2 separate regions of the Homo sapiens genome follow, and region 2 is linked to region 1. Evidence: promoter capture Hi-C in human tissues and cell types (Jung and others, 2019). All regions are on one chromosome and are shown on one strand. Each heading gives the region's core, a stretch centred on a gene start or on the middle of the fragment in contact. The rest is flanking DNA. Distances are from core to core; before and after follow the strand shown. Region 1 holds the start of NOS2 (nitric oxide synthase 2). Region 2 has its middle 42 kb from the start of LYRM9.

What was found. The method cuts DNA at HindIII sites, captures the fragments that hold promoters and counts their contacts. A contact is called where the count stands out against the background at its distance.
Region 2: a contact is called between a fragment that was not itself captured here and the fragment with the promoter of NOS2 in region 1, in 1 of the 25 tissues and cell types used here (adrenal gland).

What each region holds. Positions count from the first base shown.
Region 1 is chr17:27,798,227-27,804,402 of GRCh38, reverse strand. It overlaps NOS2 (nitric oxide synthase 2), which reads left to right and starts at 3,874. Exons shown (of 27, transcript NM_000625.4): 1 at 3,874-4,064; 2 at 5,521-5,703. The coding sequence starts at 5,594. RefSeq lists cis regulatory regions at 377-516, 1,175-1,310, 3,337-3,359, an enhancer at 3,672-3,700 and promoters at 1-3,910, 3,669-3,961, 2,844-3,961, 1-4,041. The HindIII fragment of the contact is 5,928 bases long and covers 928-6,176 here.
Region 2 is chr17:27,848,247-27,854,422 of GRCh38, reverse strand. No RefSeq gene overlaps it. Among named protein-coding and RNA genes, the nearest start is that of LYRM9, 42 kb to the left of the region's middle. The HindIII fragment of the contact is 4,752 bases long and covers 477-5,228 here.

The DNA of each region.
Region 1 (6,176 bases), core at 2,625-5,124:
CCGGGGGGCCCACCTGTCCCCCGCCTGCCCTTCAAGGTGCTCTTTGATTTCTCCCCAGCAGAATTCACCTGCTGCATCCATCATCAGAAGAGGCCAGGAATGCGGCCTGCTGGGTGGGCAGGGCCAAGAAGAAGGCAGCCGTGCAGGCCCAGGAAGCCGTAGGAGACTTGCCAACCTCCAGGAGGGGGCCAGCCCTGGACCCTGCAGACAGGCGCTCTGGGGAGGGTACCAGAAGCTCACTGTTTGTCCCGGCTTGAAGGCTGTTTGCTGTGTGACCTTGGTGAGTCTCCTAACCTCTGTGTATCATCACAATCATTATCACTATTTTTACTCTCCTCCTCTTCCTATTTGCCGGTTAAGAGAGGATTGGGATAGTGGTCATGGTTATACAACATTGTGAATATTCTAAAAACCATTGCATTTTACACTTTAAAATAGTTAATTGGTAATTTTATGTTATGTGAAATTTATTCCAATTAAAAATTAAAAATACATACATGAATTTAATGTTACAAAGGGAGAGAGAGGACCGGGAATTTAAAAGCAGGTGTTTGTGGTGGGACGGGGACCTGTCTGAGGAAGGATACTTCAGAAGGCAAGTCCTGGCATCCACTTGCTCTTTGTCAAAAGGGAAATTGTTACTCTCTGACTCCCAGCAAGGATAATAAATTCTTACTTGGCTGACTTTTTGCTCAATGGCTCAAAGCATTTTCTTGTATCTCGTTTATTTACTTTTATTTTTATCACCTTTTGTCACGAGAAAAGTCAGGCCCAGAGAGAAGTGGCTTTTCCAAGATCACATGGTAGGTCAGCAGTGAAGCTGTGCCTCGAACCTGGGACCTTTCAGGCTAAAGGAAACCAGAACATGCCACGCCCAGATATGCCGATATGGCATCCTGATTATCTCCAGCTGAAGGCATTTGAGAAAGAGCAGCTAGAGAGAGGGCTATCTGAACTGCCCTGTCCTGCCTGCAGCAAGCCATAAACATTCCTTGGAGAAAGATGCTTTCCCAGCATCAAGATGAGAAGATAACTTTTATCAGCTCAGAGATGGCACCAGAGCCATCTACAAATACAAACAAACCTTGCTATCCTACTCCTTAGCTCACTTCCACATGTTTACCTTCTCACAGCTTGCCACCCCTGGAAGCCTACAACTGCATTCGTCTTGTCACCTTTCTCTTCTTTCTTTCTTTCTCTCTTTCCTTTCCTTTCTTTTCCTTTCCTTTCCTTTCCTTTCCTTTCCTTTCCTTTCCTTTCCTTTCCTTTCCTTTCCTTTCCTCCTTTCCCTCTTTTTTTTCCTTTTTTTTCTGAGACAGGCTAGGGTGCAGTGGCGCGACCATAGCTCTCTGCAGCCTCTAACTCCCAGACTCAATTGATCCTCCCACCTGATCCTCCTGAGTAGCTAGGACTACAGTAGCTGGGCATGCCACCATACCCAGCTAATTTATTTTCAATTTTTCTGTAGAGATTGGATCTCACTATGTTGCCCAGGCTGGTCTCGAACTCCTGGCCTCAAGCAATCTGCCCACCTCAGCCTCCCAAATTGCTGGGATTCCAGGCATGAACCACCGTGCCCAGCCATCTTGTCACTTTCTAAAATGCATTGCTCTTCATGGCAGATGCTCCATAAGCCAGAGTTCTAAGCCGCAGCATTGAGTTACTTTCACTGAGGCTTCTCCTGCGTGGTGTGCATCACAGACATTAACAAACTTGCTTTTTTTTCTCTATTATTAATCTGTCTTTTGTTACAGTGTCTTTCCCAACAAATAACTTAAGATGATTGAGGAGAAATTATATTTCCTTCCCAGCTGGCTAATTCCAAATGTGTCCTCAAGCCTGGTGCTTGGACTCAAACCCTGCCACAGGTCAAGAATGCCACACCAAGCAGACGCTGTGTTAGAGGGGCACCTGAGGTGACATGTTTGACAGATCACATAACTGAATAACTGCATTTTCTGAAGGAAAATCAACGAAGTGCTTTGAGGCCAAGTAGATGGGATTCTTGAGGATTCCATGAATAGCAAATAGTAGTATCCCCCTCAGAGGCTCTTGGGTGGGGGCATTAAATGTGTTAATACATGTGTTTGCTGCAGGTATAGCCAGAATATGTGAAAGCAGCTACAGGGAATAGAGTGTAGCAAACTCCTAATCATCCCTCAAAACCCTGCCCTGGTGTCCTCTCCCTTGTAAACTTTCCTTGAACAAGGCAGAACCAGCTACATCAGCACCATACCATCCCTCCATCACTACAGATATCACTCTGTACTATAATTATCCATTTATTTTTCTAGGCCTTGCACTCCCTAAGGCCAGGATTCTGACTCTTTCCCTGAGTGCTGTTTACCTGAACTGAACCGGCATGAACCACCACGCCCGGCCATCTTGTCACTTTCTAAAATGCATTGCTCTTCGTGGCAGATGCTCCATAAGCCAGAGCTCTAAGCCGCAGCATTGAGCCGCAGCATTGAGCTGAAGCCTGAAGGGAAGATGGCTTTGATATGTTAAAACTCATTCCAGTTTACTCCTATTTTTCATTCATTCATCCACACATTCACTCAACAAAGATCCTTGAGCTCTGATATCCATGTCTTTTTTGTGGCTCTTAGTTTATCTTTGACAAAGTTAATATATTATGCTGAATTTAACTTGGGAAAGACAAGAAGGAAATGAGTGGACAGTGGTAGCAAAGTGTTGGGACGGTGAGATCAAGGGTGACTTTTTTTCCCTTTGCTTCTCAACTTCTCCCTAATGTAGTTGTTATTTTACTTTTATGATGGAAAAATGCATATGTATGGGAATACTGTATTTCAGGCATTATAAGGAATGAAATTATAGGCCGGGCATGGTGGCTAACCCTTGTAATCCTAGCACTTTGAGAGGCTGAAGTGGGCAGATCACTTGAGCTTCAGAGTTCGAGACCAGCATGGACAACATGGTGAAACCCAGTCTCTACCAAAAACACAAAAATATTAGCTGGGTGTGGTGGTGCATGCCTGTAGTCCCAGCTACTCAGGAGGCTGAGGTGGGAGGATCGCTTGAGCCTGGGAGGCAGAAGTTGCAATGAGCAGAGATCGTGCCACTCCGCTCCAGTCTTGGTGACAGAATGAGACTCCATCTCAAAAATAAATAAATAAATAAAATAAATGAAATGAAATTATAAGAAATTACCACTTTTTCATGTAAGAAGTGATCATTTCCATTATAAGGGAAGGAATTTAATCCTACCTGCCATTCCACCAAAGCTTACCTAGTGCTAAAGGATGAGGTGTTAGTAAGACCAACATCTCAGAGGCCTCTCTGTGCCAATAGCCTTCCTTCCTTTCCCTTCCAAAAACCTCAAGTGACTAGTTCAGAGGCCTGTCTGGAATAATGGCATCATCTAATATCACTGGCCTTCTGGAACCTGGGCATTTTCCAGTGTGTTCCATACTGTCAATATTCCCCCAGCTTCCTGGACTCCTGTCACAAGCTGGAAAAGTGAGAGGATGGACAGGGATTAACCAGAGAGCTCCCTGCTGAGGAAAAAATCTCCCAGATGCTGAAAGTGAGGCCATGTGGCTTGGCCAAATAAAACCTGGCTCCGTGGTGCCTCTATCTTAGCAGCCACCCTGCTGATGAACTGCCACCTTGGACTTGGGACCAGAAAGAGGTGGGTTGGGTGAAGAGGCACCACACAGAGTGATGTAACAGCAAGATCAGGTCACCCACAGGCCCTGGCAGTCACAGTCATAAATTAGCTAACTGTACACAAGCTGGGGACACTCCCTTTGGAAACCAAAAAAAAAAAAAAAAAAAAGAGACCTTTATGCAAAAACAACTCTCTGGATGGCATGGGGTGAGTATAAATACTTCTTGGCTGCCAGTGTGTTCATAACTTTGTAGCGAGTCGAAAACTGAGGCTCCGGCCGCAGAGAACTCAGCCTCATTCCTGCTTTAAAATCTCTCGGCCACCTTTGATGAGGGGACTGGGCAGTTCTAGACAGTCCCGAAGTTCTCAAGGCACAGGTCTCTTCCTGGTTTGACTGTCCTTACCCCGGGGAGGCAGTGCAGCCAGCTGCAAGGTGAGTTGCCTTCATTTCTGGGGAAGCGGCTGTTTTGAGAGGGTTTTGTTTCTTCCTCTTTGAGAAGGCTCAGAAAATTGTGGGAATTTTCTGCCTACAGAGAGAAGGTGTTGGAAAGTCTAGGTAAAAAAATGCCGACATGAGGTTTGGTCATTTGAACATGGCATCTTGGTCAGATTTCTTTTCTGCAAATATTAGCTGTGGTTGTTACATGACAAGGAAAAACTTTCTGAAAAGTTCAAAATGGGAGTTTGTATCTGCTAAGAATTTTTTTTAACAGAGATTATCTTATCAGTCCTTATAACATGTAACCTCCCCACAAATCCTGGTAAGATGGATATATTAAACCCATTTTATGGATGAATAAATGAGTTTCAGTTAAATAACTTGATCCAGGACACATAACTGGTAGAGCTAGGATTCCAGGATTTGAACCCAGGTCTATGGGGCTATAAGTTCTTTTCTTTCTTTCCCTCTTTCCTTCCTTTCCTTCCTGTCCTTTCCTCCCTTCCCCTCCCTTCCCTTCCCTTTCTTTCTTTTTTTTTTTTGGAAACAGCCTTGACTGCCCAGCCTCAAGCAATCCTTCTGCCTCAGCCTCCCGAGTAGCTGGGACTACAGGCACAAGACACCATGCCTGCCTGGCTAATTTTTCAATTTTTTGTAGTCAAGGTCTCCCTATGTTGCCCAGGCTGAACTCGAACTCTTGGACTCAAGCGATCCTCCTGCCTCGGTCTCCCGAAATGCTGGGATTACAGGCGTGAGCCACTGCACTTGGCCTAAAATTCTTACATGGACTATATTCACTACACTGTCTTCTAAAGACAGAGTTTTTGCCTCTTTGATCTTCCTCTTGTCTGTTTCAAAGGAGATGATCTCAGATTTCGAGGGATGAGTGCATTTTTCACAAATATTTCCTCCCCACATAATAAAAGAGGAGCAAGTAATAATGCTGAGTTAGAACAACAACTGCAAAATCTTTAAAAGAAAGGTAGCTACAGCTTGAGTGCTTTCCCCAGTAATAGACCTAAAACTACAGTTGATAATGAGAGCTGCTGGGAAGTGTCTTTCAGGGTCAGGCAAAGGCACCCCTGTTTCAACGACCTCCGGGCTCTTCCTCACCCTGCCTGTGGCCAGTGATGAAGCCTGGCTGGGTCTGGTGGGCCAGCAGGTCCCGCTAAGGAGGCTCATGGTGCATACAGTTTGTCCTTGTTAAGTGGCGATGGGGATGGGGGGGTTCATTGTTTTTCCTTAAGATTATTAGGTGGCTTTACAGAATTGAAGTCTGTGTCCGAAGGCTCCCCATTCCAACCCCGAAATAGAGACAGAGGTTGCAAAGCATTGATGAAGGGGCTCATGCTGGCGTTCATATCGATTCCCCAGTGAGCCAACCCCACTGAGAAGCCCTGTTCTGTAAACTCTTCTTCAACCTTCCCTCACCTCTGCTTCCCTTCTTCAGCCCCACAGTGAAGAACATCTGAGCTCAAATCCAGATAAGTGACATAAGTGACCTGCTTTGTAAAGCCATAGAGATGGCCTGTCCTTGGAAATTTCTGTTCAAGACCAAATTCCACCAGTATGCAATGAATGGGGAAAAAGACATCAACAACAATGTGGAGAAAGCCCCCTGTGCCACCTCCAGGTGAGTTTTCCCTGGGGGAACCTCCTGCTTGTCTCCTTGGGCACCCATGCCCTGTCGGCACCGATGACTCAGAATTCCTCTCTCTGCTCCTCCTCTCTCACCTGAGGTCTGATCTCCTCATTGCTTCTTGAAAGTCCCTGTTGGAATTCAATGCAGCCGCTGATTATTGGGCACCTCGCTGTGCCTGACGGTATGTGAAGAAGGAAGGGACATGGTGCGGGGCTGGCCCTGAAGAAGCTTGGAATCTTTGGGGAAGAATATGGGAAGGAGCTTGGCCTGAGAATGGGAGGCAGTAGAGCCTCGTGGTGGGCACCATGGCGGAGGGGTGGGGGTGGAGGGTCAGCATCCTGGCCTGCGTCCATTCCAATTCACCGCTTGCTAGATGCTTTGAATATCATCCTGGTGAAGGGCATCAGGATGTTAGACAAACTAGTTCCAAGCCCTGTGCTGGCCGCACTAGTTGCCGGGTGCTG
Region 2 (6,176 bases), core at 1,603-4,102, 51 kb before region 1:
GAGGAGCATTTCAGATGGAGGCAATAGCAAGTGCAAAGGTCCTGAGGCAGACCTGTAATAGACATATTAGAGGAAGCAAGAAGGGCCACGTGGCTGGAATGAAGCACGCCTGTAATCCCACCTACTCCAGAGGCTGAGGCAGGAGAATCACTTCAACCCGGGAGGCGGAGGTTGCAGTGAGCCGAGATTGTGCCACTGCACTCCAGCCTGGGCAACAGAGCAGGACTCTCTCTCAAGAAAAACAAAAATAAAACAAAACACTGTTCTGAGAATGGAAAGACATAAATAATTGCAAGTTACATAACTGATAAATGACATGTGTCTTAGAATATACAAAGTGCTCTCAAAATCCAACAATCAGAAAGCAAGCACATTTAAAAAGGGCAAAAGCACTCACAAAAGACAAATACTGTACGATTCCACTTATATGAGGTATACTTAGAGTAGTCAAAATCACAGAGACAGTAGAAGGGTGGCTGCCAGGGGCGAGGGGGATGGGGAAATGGGGAGTTATTGTTCAACGGGTGCAGAGCTTTAGTTTCACAAGAGGGAAAGAGTTATGAAGATGGATAGTGGGGATAGTTTCACAATATCATGAATATATTTAGAACCACTAAACTGTAAACTTAAAAACATTAAGATGATAAATCTTTTGGTATGTGTGTTTTAACACAGTAAAAAATTTTGAGGGAAAAAAGGGCAAAAGACATGAACAGATGTTTCACCACAGAAGATATATGGATGACCAAGAGGCACATGAAAAGATGCTCAGCATCATTGGTAATTAGTAAAATGCAAGTTAAAACCACTATGATATATCACTATACATCTCTTAGAATGCCTAAAATAACAAATATTGACAATACCAAATGATAACTAGGGTGCAAAGTAGCCAGCACTCTTATACATCTCTGGTGGGATTGCAAAAAGACTACAAACACTTTACAAACCACTTGGTAGTTTCTTGTAAAGTTAGCATACATCTACCATATGGCCCAGCAATTTCACTCCTGGAGAAATGAAAGCTATGGTCATGCAAAACCTGTACATGAATGTTTATAGTTATTTATAGTCTATAGTTATAGTTTATAGTTACTTGTAATTGCCCAAACTGGAAGCTACCCAAATCTCTGTTAGTTGAGGAATGTATAAACAAACTGTGGCACACCCAAACAATGAAATACTACCTAGCGGTAGAAAGAAATCGACCATGGATACACACAAAAACATGGGTTGTTTTCAAATGCCTTCCGCTAAGTGAAAGAAGCAAAAATACCTACAGAAGTAATAGGCTACATACTGTGTGATTCCATTTATTTGACATTCCAGAAAAGGCAAACCTAGAGGGGCAGAAAATAGATCAGTGGCACCAAATATACCTGAGATTAAAGTCAGCCACATGATCTCTTTGAATTTCTGTTTCTTGATCTATAAAATGGGAATAATTTTACCTACCTAAGGGAATTGTGAGCACTCAGTGCCAAAATATATAAAAAATCTAGAAAATTGTGCTCAGAAAATGTTAGTTTTCTCCCCTTTCCTTTCTGCCTCATCAGGCAGATCACTTCTACAGATGGCCAGTTTCATCTATGAAGTGTTCACTTGTATGGGTTTTCCTCTGACAGGGGAGCCTTATCTTTAGATTCTGGATGCACCTTGCTTGTCCTGTAGGTGCCGACTGCTGCCACTGGTGTATCTGCTGTGACTTGAGGGGTGATCTCAGCTTGAATCCAACCCAAGGCTCAGGCATGTCTGGAAAACCGATGGGATGGCTTTCCAGACCTGATTTGTATTAATGGTGGAACCTCCCCTCAGAGAACTCATTCTAAGCAAAGAAGGAGCCACGGTTGATGAATGGACAAGAAGGGGCCCTTCAGAATGACTGAGGCAGGGAAAGAGGGCAGCGACTCTGATGACCTCTCACTCAAATTCACACACCTACCCAGCTTCCGTGGACTGTTCAGGGATCCCCTCTCTTCCACTTTGCACCAGAAAGCCCTGCAGCTTTGCTATTTCAAGGGCCCCAGGGTCAGGATATGATGGAAGATGGTGGTATCTGGTGGCCATGGGGTGCTCTGTGCCAAGTCCCTAGAGAAACCAGGGTTCAGCAGGAGAGGACTCAAGCACAGGCATACATGAAATACCTCCAGGGAACTCACAGAAGTACGAGCATGTGGGACACAGCTCAGGGCATTTTGAGTTATTATTGTTAATGGGGAAGCCTCTGTGTCCCCAGTCTGGTGATGGTGGGGGTGTCCCCAGTCCTCCCTTTTCCTTCTGAGGATTGTCATGTAATGTCTACAGAAGGCTGTGATCCTTCCAGTGTGGCGAGGTGTTTGAAGATAAGCCCAGAGCATGTAGCATCTACTGAGGACACGCCATCCACACAACCCTGCTATGTTCTAACAGGAGGCTCTGACCCTGTCCCTGAGGAGCTTCCCTTATTTGGGGAGGTCAAACATACATAAAACAGCTTTGGAATAATTACAATATAATAATGAAATTTGCTGAGAGAATATATCTCCGGAAACACACACACACGGGTAACTATGTGAAGTGAGGGATGTGTTAATTAGCTTCATAGTGGTAATCATTTCACAATGTATACGTACATCAAAACATCACACCGTACATCTTAAATATGTACAACTTGTATTTGTCAAGTAAACCTCAATAAAGCTGGAAAAGATATCCAAGGTGGGGATAACACATTCTTTCTCGTATGGGGCACTATGGCAATAGACTCTAGGTTTAGGGGTGGCCTGCCCCTTGCTAACCCACATTATCTGCAATTATTTATCCCTGGCTACACACTAGAATCACCTGGGAGAGGGGCTTTAAGAGCTGATGCCAGGTCCCACCCAACACCAATTAAATCAGAATCTGTAAGTATAGCTTTGGTACTGATTTTTTTTTTAAAGTTCCTCAGTGATTTTTTTCTTACCTCTTATTTTCATTAGCATTTTCCAGATATTTAAGACAATAGATACTAAACAGGACACAGGCAGATTGAAGAACACTCAGCATTGTTAAACGGCTTTTGCTGTGCCACCTGCTAGTCAAAATCGGGCCCACTGATAGTTGATGCCACAGGGGTATTCTGAGGCCAGCCCACACTGGCACCCCTAGAGCAGATTGTTCAATATTCAGGAACTTTGCAAGCAGATTGTTAAACCATTGGTAGCTTGAAATCTCCCATAGTGAGAGTATTCACCATGGAAATCAATAAATGCTACAAATCAGGGCACCCCAGATCACAAGGTTAGGAGTTCGAGACCATCCTGACCAACATAGTGAAATCCTGTCTCTACTAAAAATACAAAAGTTAGTTGGGTGTGGTGGCACGTGCCTGTAATCTCAGCTACTCAGGAGGCTAAGGCAGGAGAATCGCTTGAACCCGAGAGGCAGAGGTTGTAGTGAGCTGAGATCACGCCACTGCACTCCAGCCTCAACGACAGTGCAAGACTCTGTCTCAAAAAACAAAACAAAACAACCAGGGTACCCCGTTCCCACCACAGCCAGTTTACCTGCACACAGCTGTCTGAGACAATATTTGTGATTTTGCCCATAGCAGTTCCTCCCAACCCCAACCTGCCAAACACCTCGCTTGGGCACACATCAAGCTGTGCTTTTACGGCCATGACACTGAGCCTATGGCAGGTGCACATGACTGAGGCCCCAGCATCACTCTCCTTCCACAGCTGTTTACCTGCAAGTGCTAACTTGCTAACTTGCTCTAGTCCTTGAAAGATACCTGGGGGGCTCTATTAAGAGAGTTTCCTTGATAACAGATATGCGCATTTACTTTGAGCATGATTCTTTTTTCAGGATTATTTAATATGTTTTTATATATATTACCCTATGTTTCCTCACAATGAGTGAGCAGAAGATGTATTGAGTACTTATATTGTAGATTCAGGTAGGGAAAAGACATATAAACAGAGAGACTGCCTTATGAGAGTCTCTAAGTTCCACCAATGAGGCTCACAGAGGTACAAAGAGTTCCATATTTCCAACAGAAAAATGACAAAGTCTGTGTTCTATTTTTTTTCTTTTTTTCTTTTCTTTTTTTTTTTCTGAGACAGGGTCTCACTCTGTCACCCAGCTTTGAGTGCAGTAGCATGACCTCGGTTCACTGCAACCCTCGCCTCTCAGGCTCAAGTGATCCTCTCACCTCAGCCTCCCGAGTAGCTGGGACTACAGGTGTGTGCCCCCACGCCTGGCTAATTTTTTATATTTTTGGTAGAGACAGGGTTTCGTCATGTTGCTCAGGCTGGTCTTGAACTCCTGAGCTCAGATGATCCACCTGCCCCAGCCTCCCAAAGTGCTGGGATTACAGGCATGAGTCACTGGCACCTGCCTCTATTGGTTTTCTTTTTCCGAGTAAGAAGAGCACTACTTGCCTGAGATCCGCATTTGAATGATGTCTCCAGTGAATAACCTTGTGATCTTGCCAACCTACTCGGCTTCTCAGTTCCCTCCACTGCAGTGTTGCAGAGACCAGGAGGATAATGAACCACAGCCACGGTTCTCAAGCTTTGGTGCACACACCATCACCTGGGGGGCTCCTGGAAAAAGACTGCTGGGTTCCAGCCCCAGGGTCTCTGATACAGTCGGTGTGAGGTGGAACCTGGTCATTTGCATGCCTAACAAGTTCCCAGGTGACGCTGCTGGCCCAGGGGCAACACTTTGAGAACCATTAAAACAATATTTAGACATAATAATAATTGCGTAATTCTTTGTCTCTTCTGTTGCCTTGACTGACAGATTAAGAAAGGGAAACAGCATTTATTGAGTATCAATAATTATGCAAGTCATCTCATTTTATTTAATACTTACCCTTAAAGTACTTATCACGTTATGGATGAGAACATTGAAGCTAAAAAAGTTAAATGACTTACCCAGAATTTTACAATGAGGAAATGGTGAATCTGGGATTCAAATACAAGTTTGTCCAACTCCGGAATCTATATTCTATTTGTTACACCTTGCTGCTTGCCAACAGTGTTTGGCCGTGGTAATTGCATAAGTTTAGGGGTTTAACTTTATTCTACTTCTTTCTATATGATAGTTTGTCTTCTACTTTGTCTTTCTATATTTTTTCCAGGTATTCTGTTTTACAGAGTTCAGTCCACTGGTCTAAAACAAGTTATTTGGGCTCTTCGAGCCTCATTTTCCTCAAATGTAAACTGAGGAAACATCCACCTTGCAGTGTTGTGGTGAGAGCTACAGACAATATGCATAAACCACCTGGCAATGTGCCCAGCCAGTGTTAGGCACATAACACTCAACAGCTGCTGTTATTCAATAGTCCCTTGCTCCCCTTCCTTAAACACCATCCCTGATTTCCAAATGAATCAGACAGTGTGTTCTTCTCTTGTGCTGCCACATTAACCAGAACTTATTCTGACCATGTGCTTGAATTGTCTCATCAGCATGTCCCCTACTGGCACCTATTGTATCGAAGAGCGTTGTGAATATTAAAAAAGAGAACATGTAAGATGCAATGAATCAGCCAGTCAACAAGCAAACATTGAGCACCTTGTATGTGCCAGGCATGGGGTTATAGTTGTGAAACAGAGAGTCCTGTTACAGAACTGAAGTGGGGTCCGCTTGCCTGGTGCAGTAAAGTCAAACATTCACACTGAGGTTTGCAGTGGAAGAAAGGAGGGTGTTAATTTTCAGGGAACCAAGTAAGCGGAATCAGGCAGCTCATGCTTAAGACCTGACCTCCCCGATGGCTTGCAAGTAAGGGGGTTTAAAGATGAGAAGGCAGAGGTTATAGGCAAACTCGTGAATCAATACACATAGACTACACATTGGTTTGATCTAAAAAGGTGGGACATCTCAAACCAGGGGCTTACAGGTCATAGGTAGATGCAAAGATTTTCTGATTTGCAGTTGGCTACGGAAGCAAAGCTTTGTCTAAAAATTTAGGATCAGCTGAAAAAAATGTTAGCCCTGGCTTTTTCGCATGGCTTCCTCCAGGATTCTCAGGAAGAACTTTAGAACTAAGAATGGCAGTCAGAATTCAGTCCTCAATTCCCCCTTATCTGAGGTCTATGCTCCAGTGGATCCATTTGGTGGGGGTTTCTGAAAAACAACTCAGGGACATATGTTAAGAAGTTATCTTTAGATTCTACAAGGAACATCTTGTGACTCTAACTTCCTTGGCT